3 separate regions of the Homo sapiens genome follow, and regions 1 and 3 are each linked to region 2. The links are contacts of gene promoters, found by promoter capture Hi-C in human tissues and cell types (Jung and others, 2019). All regions are on one chromosome and are shown on one strand. Each heading gives the region's core, a stretch centred on a gene start or on the middle of the fragment in contact. The rest is flanking DNA. Distances are from core to core; before and after follow the strand shown.

What was found. Contacts are between HindIII fragments. The study calls those that stand out against the background at their distance.
Region 1: a fragment that was not itself captured here is called in contact with the fragment with the promoter of IDUA in region 2 in 1 of the 25 tissues and cell types used here (lymphoblastoid cells).
Region 3: a fragment that was not itself captured here is called in contact with the fragment with the promoter of IDUA in region 2 in 1 of the 25 tissues and cell types used here (lymphoblastoid cells).

Annotation. Positions count from the first base shown.
Region 1 is chr4:1,298,970-1,301,669 of GRCh38, forward strand. All of the region lies in intron 1 of MAEA (macrophage erythroblast attacher, E3 ubiquitin ligase), which reads left to right. Among named protein-coding and RNA genes, the nearest start is that of MAEA, 10 kb to the left of the region's middle. The HindIII fragment of the contact is 9,660 bases long and covers 1-2,700 here.
Region 2 is chr4:985,687-988,386 of GRCh38, forward strand. It overlaps IDUA (alpha-L-iduronidase), which reads left to right and starts at 1,358. Exons shown (of 14, transcript NM_000203.5): 1 at 1,358-1,556; 2 at 2,123-2,263. The coding sequence starts at 1,399. SLC26A1 (solute carrier family 26 member 1) reads right to left here. Exons shown (of 3, transcript NM_022042.4): 3 at 1,971-2,700. RefSeq lists an enhancer at 945-1,004 and silencers at 1,215-1,864, 1,647-1,824. The HindIII fragment of the contact is 27,782 bases long and covers 1-2,700 here.
Region 3 is chr4:602,272-604,971 of GRCh38, forward strand. The region is part of intron 1 of LOC124900162 (a long non-coding RNA gene); the gene reads left to right. Among named protein-coding and RNA genes, the nearest start is that of PDE6B, 22 kb to the right of the region's middle. The HindIII fragment of the contact is 9,672 bases long and covers 1-2,700 here.

The sequences.
Region 1 (2,700 bases), core at 77-2,576, 310 kb after region 2:
CTCCTGGGCTCAGGTGATCTTCCTGCCTCAGCCTCCCGGGTAACTGGGACCACGGGCGCCTGCTTCCGTGTCTGGCTAATTTTTTTATTTGTAGAGATAGGTTCTAGCTCCGTTGTCTAGGCTGGTCTCCATCTCTTGGGCTCAAGCATTCCTCCCTCCTGGGCGTCCAAAAGTGTTGGAATAACAGGTGTGAGCCACCATGCCCAGCTCCTTGGCATATTTAGATCTGAGCTTATCATCTTAACACCTGCTGCCCAAACCAATTCTACCAGTCTCCCTTCTCTTCGGGAAGGGCAGCCCCTCCATCTCCCTTGGTCAGGCCAGAACCTTCAGGTTGGCCTTGATGCCTCTGTTGTCACAGCTCATGCCCAGCCCGTCTGCCCCTCCACCCTGGCGTCAGGACATGCCCAGGCCCAGCTGCTGCTGCTCTTCCCACCTCTGCCCCTGCGGCTCAAGTCGCATCTCTCTCTGGAATATTGAATAGCCTTCTGGCTGCTCCTGCTCTGCTCATGCCCACCCCGGCTGCCCCAGCGCCAGATCCTGTCGTCTTTTTGTTCTAGGAGTTTCCTGACCTGGGGATGAAGGCCAGGGTCGTTACAGTGGCTCCCAGGCCCTTTGCCCTGTAGGGTGCTGGGCCCAGTGGCCTTTCTGCCGCCATTCAGCCAGGCCAGCATGCCGAGCCCAGGGTTTTACTGCCACCTTCCTCTGTCTGGAGCGCTCCTTCCACAGATGTCCATGGTCCCATGTCCTCACCTTCAATCTTTGCCAACGTCCGTGGTCCCATGTCCTCACCTCCTTCAATCTTCGCTGAGCTGTCAGCTTGTGAAGCTTCTCTGACTCCACTGTTGAAACTGCAGCCCCAGCATCTCCCACTTCTGCCCTTTTCCCTCGTGAGTCGTGACCGCTGTCTCACATAACGGTATTTTGCTTGTTTCTGACCACTGGGATTATAAGCTCTTTTGAAGGATAGAGAAGAAATAAATTCTCCAATTAACAAATGAACAAAATAATATTAAATATTATTTTGGCAATTCTGTCTAAAGCAGTAAGAATTGAAATAGAAGTAAATGTAACCATTGAGAAAGTCAGCACAATAACGGGGCATACAGTAAGTGCACGAAACCCAGTCGCCACCCTCTATATCACCGCCAGCCAGTTAGAACACATCCCATTCACCATAACCCAAAGCAGCAGAGACAGACGATCCAACAGCATCCTTAGCAGGCAGCCTGACTGCCACGGAGCTGTTTCAGGAAAGGCCCGAAGGAAGATTGGCACTAGCAGAGGATGCCGTGTTTCTGCATGAAAACCGTAATGATATCATATTGTTCTTTTTGTGTTTGATAAATATTTCTTATTTATAATGAAAGGGACACCAAGAAGGGCTGGGCCTTGCCAGACACCACAGCCAGGTATGTAACTGCCAAAGTTGTGACCTTGTGGCAGAACAGCTGGCTCCCTTTGAAATACTTTATGGAAAGGTGAGAGAGGAAGCTCTGCTGATGTTGTGATTATGAACTGACACTCCTGCCCGCTTGCAGTCTCTGTTGTTTGGTCAGGGAGTGACCTGGGGATGAGGGCACTGGACCGCGTGGGGCACGGCCCCGGCTCTTCCGTGCTGCCGGCTTCCGAGGCTGGGGCTGCGTGGCGTGCGTGTGTGCCGCTGCCGCAGGTCGCATACCCTTTCCAAGACGGACCAGTGGCTTTAAAAGGTTCCTGCAAGGAAGTGGCTGGCTAAGGCTGGGCCTAACTGGGCGTGCACACAACAGGGAGCGCAGAGCTCAGGGCCGACAGCACTCTTGCCACTGCGAGCTTTGTAGGGCGCAACATCAATCTGGTTACATCCCCTCAGAAGTTGACTGGAAGTGTCATTTTTTCAAGAAGCCTCTTAGGGGATTCGAAGCGTTTTTCCTTGGTGAGCCTCCCTCAGGGTATGTGCTGTGCTTGGGGAGATTAGCTCAGGATGGCAGGAAGCCACCGTGATTACATGCCCCGCACCAGAACATGAGACTGGCCCCTCCAGGACGGAGAGGGATGTAAACTGCCACCCAGGGCTTAATCCAGCACTTCTGGCCCTGTGATGAGCTTCGTGATCAATATTTAGAAACCTCTTCTGGTTAATTGCAAAAGACAAAGAGCCTCATGCATTGGGGAAATTCTTCCTTCCCGTGCTGGTGAAAACATGATGATGACACACTGAAATGCGTTGCGTTTTGTCAGCAAATTCTGTCAGAAGCACGGCAAACGCTGGAGAAGGTTTGAGGAAGCGCATCCTGAAGCTGATGGCACCGTGTGGGGGCAGCGGGCGGGCAGGTGCAGACGTTTCACGCATGTCTCCACTCACACTGCTTGCCACATTCTGTTTCAGTGACGAAATCAGGGAGGATTACTGCTGTGAGTCACCAAAGGGGAAGATGTACTGGAGGAGATGTAATTTAACATTCGCTAAGTAGAGAAATCCCGTGAACATAAAAAGCTGTAATGCAACAAATTACTTAGGAAAAATTGGGGAGATGTGATAAATAAAAGTTTAATTCTTTGGTATAACCAGAAAAGATAGAACCAGAATTTAAAAGCAAATACCAAGCCAGGCACAGCGGCTCATGCCTGTAATCCCAGCACTTTGGGAGGCTGAGGCAGGAGTATCACTTGAGCCAGGAGCTCAAGGCTGCAGTGAGCCATGATTGTGTCCCTGCACTC
Region 2 (2,700 bases), core at 108-2,607:
TTTGTATTATGTTTTTCCTCCTTGCTAATTTGGAATATATACACACTATTTCACTTTTAAATGGCTAATCACTTTTAATGCAATTTCAACATAAGAAGACCTAATGTTAAGCAATATTTTAACCCCTCTCCCCAAAATAAAAAGACCCAGAACACTGTAACTCTAATTATCCTTCTCCCAACTTAGAGAGGATTATTGTCCAGTATTTTCGTTTTGTTAGTAGACTGTTCTTTTTTTCTTTTCTTTTTTTAGAGATGGGGTCTCATTTTGTCAACCAGGCTGGAATGTAGTGGTGTGATCATGGCCCGTCTCAGCCTTGAACTCCTAAGCTCAAGCAATCTCCCACCTCAATTTCGTGGGTAGCTGGGCCTCACAGGCATATACCATCGCATCTGGCTAAATTTTTTTTTTGTACAGATGGGGTCTTGGTACATCTCCCAGGCCGATTTCAAACTCCAGGCCTCAAGTGATCCTCCCGTGTTGGCCTGCAATTCCAAAGTGCTGGGATTGCAGGTGTGAGCCACCGCACCAAGCCTGTTCTTTCCATTATTATTTTTATACAATGTTTGCTTGGATTCACACATGCATACATGGACTACACATGTACTACAGTTGTCCCATGGTATCCTCGGGGTATTGGTTCCAGGACCCTCCCAGATACCAAAATTTGCAGGTGCTCAAGTACTTGATATAAAATGGCACAGTATTTGCACATTACCTACGCACATCCTACTGTGTAGTTTAAATCAAGATTACTTATAGTCCCTAAAACAATGTAAATGCTCTGTAAATAGCTGTTATACTGTATTGTTTTAAAATATGTATTATTTCGTATTGCTTTGGCTTTAAAACAATATTTTCAGTCTGCTTGGTTGAATCCATGGATCTGAAGCCAAGTGTAAGGAGGGCCCAGTGTGCTCTTCTGGGGTAATTCTCCTTCCTGCTAAAGCGCACGCTTTACTCAGGAGGCTGGGGTGAGAAAATCGCTGAAGCCCCGGAGATGGAGGTTGCAGTGAGCTGAGATCGCGCCACTGCACCTCAGCCTGGGCGACAAAGCAAGACTCTGTCTCAAAAACACACAAAAACAGAGAAAAACAAGACAGTAATGGCTCAACTCACATAGCACCAACGGGCGAAGCGTTCTTCTGAGCGCTTTCCGAGTCATCGGTCCTCAGAGCAGCCCCTGAGGCCCGCAAGGAAGCGGGGCTCCAAGCCCTGCCGTGCTCCCGGCTCCCCGAGGCTCCCCGAGGCCACCCAACCCCTCCCACCCGGCCATCGCCCCCTCACCAAGGCCCCGCCCCGCGGCGGCGGTCACATGGGGTGCGCGCCCAGACTCCGACCCGGAGGCGGAACCGGCAGTGCAGCCCGAAGCCCCGCAGTCCCCGAGCACGCGTGGCCATGCGTCCCCTGCGCCCCCGCGCCGCGCTGCTGGCGCTCCTGGCCTCGCTCCTGGCCGCGCCCCCGGTGGCCCCGGCCGAGGCCCCGCACCTGGTGCATGTGGACGCGGCCCGCGCGCTGTGGCCCCTGCGGCGCTTCTGGAGGAGCACAGGCTTCTGGTGAGCGCTCCGCGGCCTCCGGGACCCCCTGGCCGCACGGGGAGAGCTCGGGCGCCCCCTGACTGCGCACTGTGAGAGCTTCAGAGACCGGAGCTCCCTCCTCTGGGGCCCTGGCTCTCCCGGGCCCGCCCCCCGCCGTGTTTGTGGGTGGGTCCTCCACCTGAGTGGGCGCCGGGGCGTGAGCCTGGGCCGCCCCCTGCAGCCCAGGCCGATGCCCGGGATCCTGCTCTTTGAGGTAAACCAGGAGTCTCCCCTGGGAGTGGACGGCCCTGCAGCGGGACCTGGCCTGCCTGTCCCATTCCTTCCACCTAGAGCTGAGGTACCCGCCTTCCTGGCAGGGCCAGGGCCAGGGCTGGCGTTGGCCCCTCGTCTTACTGCTGCTGCCGTTCCCCATGAAGATGGGACCTCCCCACATTCCTGGCCCTAAGGGTCATTTTATTAGTCACTGAACGCACGGGCAGCGCCTGGATCCTGCGCCCGGGCAGTCCTGGGCTTGAACGTGTGTGTCAGCCGCGCTGCCAGCCATGCTGAGGCTCGGGACTGAGCCGCCCCTTTGTTGTCCCCAGCCCCCCGCTGCCACACAGCCAGGCTGACCAGTACGTCCTCAGCTGGGACCAGCAGCTCAACCTCGCCTATGTGGGCGCCGTCCCTCACCGCGGCATCAAGCAGGTCCGGACCCACTGGCTGCTGGAGCTTGTCACCACCAGGTGGGCGGCGGGCAGGGTCTGGGCGTCCCAGAGCCCCTTACAGAGGCACAGATGGGAGGGGAGGGCTGGGGGCTGCTCGGAAGACCCCTTGTTCCCCCACCTCCCGCCGAAGCACCCTGTTGGGGAGAGCGTGTCCTTGCTGGCTGTGCTGGGGTGAGGGCTGTGTGCTGGAGGGAGCCCCTGCATGGGGCACGGTGGGCTTCCTGCAGGTCTCCCTGCAGGCTCAGGGTTGGCTGCGCCGCACCTGGCTCCTGGTGCACCCGTGAGCATCCCTGTGTGTGTCTGCTGGCCAGGCTGGGTAGGGCCACTGCACCTGAGGGCTGAGCTGAGGTCTCATCGGTCACAGCACCCTGGGCCCTGACGCTGGTGCAGGTGGCCACCCTGTGAGGGGGAGGCACGAGGTGTGAGGGGCACTTGGGTGTGTGGGGCCTTCTGGA
Region 3 (2,700 bases), core at 24-2,523, 380 kb before region 2:
AGACTGAAGGGACGTGAGGGAGCCCCACAGGACAGACGGGGGCAAGCGGCCCGGCCACTGGGGCTGCCTCTGCCCAGTCACCTCCCTCCTCCGGCCTTCGTTCTGCTCCTTTCTACCCAAGGTCGGCCACTCCCCTGCCCTATAAAAACCCACCCATGTCCCCGTCAAGGGCAGCAGGCACCCCAGGCTGCTAAGACGTGCACTCTGAGCGCCTTCCCAGCCCAGGGACTGTCCCCAAGGTCCAGCTGCCCAGGGGCCCTGAGCAGCCACTCCCACTTCTTGTCATCACAACCGCTTAAGGACCTGCAGATGAGGGCATCCTATCCCACCCCAGCCCTGGGGGCCATGTTCAGGCCAGGAGAAGCCACCAAACACTGCCACCATCTTCCTGGCTCCAGAGGCTCTGTGCCAACACCAGGCCCCCTTGGGCCCACCTAGCCCACAGACCTTGGAGGCAGGTGCACGAGCAGGTGCATCCATCCCATGGACTCTGATGGGCTGTCAGGAAGGACGCAGGTAGAGCCCAGGTCCTGCCCAGCAGGTGCAGTTCCAAGGCTGCCTCTGGGTGGCGTGCTTGGACCAGTCAGGTGCCCTGTGTTCACCTAACACCGCAGAACCGGCTTCCAGCTGCCAGGGCGATGCAAGCCTGTAGAAGCACAGATGCGGTCATTCCTCAGCCCTACCCAGGCCTTGAGAGTGGAGGGTCAGGGGCCTCTGCACAAAGGCTTTGATCCCCCAAATACACACAGACCCCCACTTTCCTTGTTAGTTTTCTAACACTTCCATAGCAAGCTACCACAGACTAGGTAGCTTCAGCAGCAGAAATGTGTCCTCTGACCATTCTGAAGGCTGAGAGTCTGGGATGAAGACGTTGACGGGTGTGGTCTCCGCAGAAGTCTCTCTCCTTGGTCTGCAGACAGCTGCTCTCTTGCTGCCTCTTCACATGGTCTTCCCTCCACGCGGGCTCACCCAGGGGACTCTGTGTGACCTGGTCTCCTCGTCTTATAGGAATGCCAGCCATGTTGAATTAGAGCCCCACATTCATGCCTCATTTCTACTTAATCACCTCTTTATTTTTAAAATTTATTTATTTATTTATTTTATTTTTTTTGAGACTGAGTCTCATTCTGTTGCCCAGGCTGCAGTGCAGTGGCATGATCTCAGCTCACTGCAACCTCCACCTTCCGGGTTCAAGCGATTCTTCTGCCTCAGCCTCCCGAGTAGCTGGGATTACAGGTGCACGCTATCACGCCCAACTGATTTTTTGTATTTTAGTAGAGACAGGGTTTCACCATGTTGGCTGGTCTTGAACTCCTGAGCTCAGGCAATCCGCCTGCCTCGGCCTCCCAAAGTGCTGGGATTACAGGCGCGAGCCACCGTACCCGGCCTCCCAAAGTGCTGCGATTACAGGTGCGGGCCACCGTACCCGGCCTAAATTACCTCTTTAAAGGTCTTACCTTCAAATAACGATCACGTCATGAGGTACTGGGGGCTGGGATTTCAACATATGAATTTTGTGGGACACAATTTCAATCCATAACACTGACGTAAGGTTCTTGCACTGTATGTGAAGTGGTATAATATGTAAATGTGACAATTCGTAGAGAAAGAAATGTCTTTTCAACCAGTGATGCTGGAACTATTGAATATGCATGTGCAAAAAGAAAAAGAGAGCCTCGATCTATACCCGGACCACATATAAAAATAACTCAAAATGTACTGCAGACGTAAATGTCACACCTAAGACTACACAGTTGCTAGAAGTAAACCTAAGCGAACATTTCTGTGATCTTGAGTGGACAAAGATTTTTTAGCTGTGATTTCAAAAGCATCATCTATAAAAACAATAAACCAGCCTTCATCAGCATTAAAAGCATCTGCTCTTGGGAAGACACTGTTAACAGAATAAAAAGGCAATTCATAGACTGGAAGAAAGTATTTTAAAATCACATATCTGATAAAGGATTTATGTCTGGAATATATAAAGAACAAAATGCATTACAGCACCCCCCACCACACGCTTGTCTGTGGTTCCACTTTGTGTGGTTTCAGTTACCAGCAGTAAACTGTGGTCGGAAAATATTACATGCAACAAGATATTTTGAGAGAGAGAGACAGAGCCCACATTCACGTAACTTTTATTACAGTTTACTGTTATAATTGTTCTATTTTATTATTATTTTTAGTCTCTTATTTTGCCTAGTTTGTACATTAAACTTTATCATAGGTATATATTTATAGGAAAAAATGTAGTATGTATAAAGTTCAGAGTTCAGTACTATCCATGGTTTCAAGCATTCATTGGGGGGTCTTGGAATGTATACCCAGCAGATAAGGAGAAACTGCTGTCATAAGTAAACAAACAATCCAATTTGTTTTGAGGTTTGGGTTTTTTTGTTTAGAGACAGGGTATCATTCTCTTGCCAAGGCTGGAGTGCAGTGACACCACCATAGCCCAGTGAAGCCGTAACATTCCAGGCTCAAGCAATTCACCCACTTCTGCTTCCCAAGTAGCTGGAACTACAGGTGTACACCATCGCACCCAGCTAATTTTTTTTTTTTTTTGCAGAGATGGGGTCTCACTATGTTGCCCAAGCTGGTCTCAAACTCCTGGGTTCAAATGATCCACCCTCCTTGGCCTCCCAAAGTGCTGGGATTACAGGCATGAACCACCATGTGCAGCCACAACCCAATTTTAAA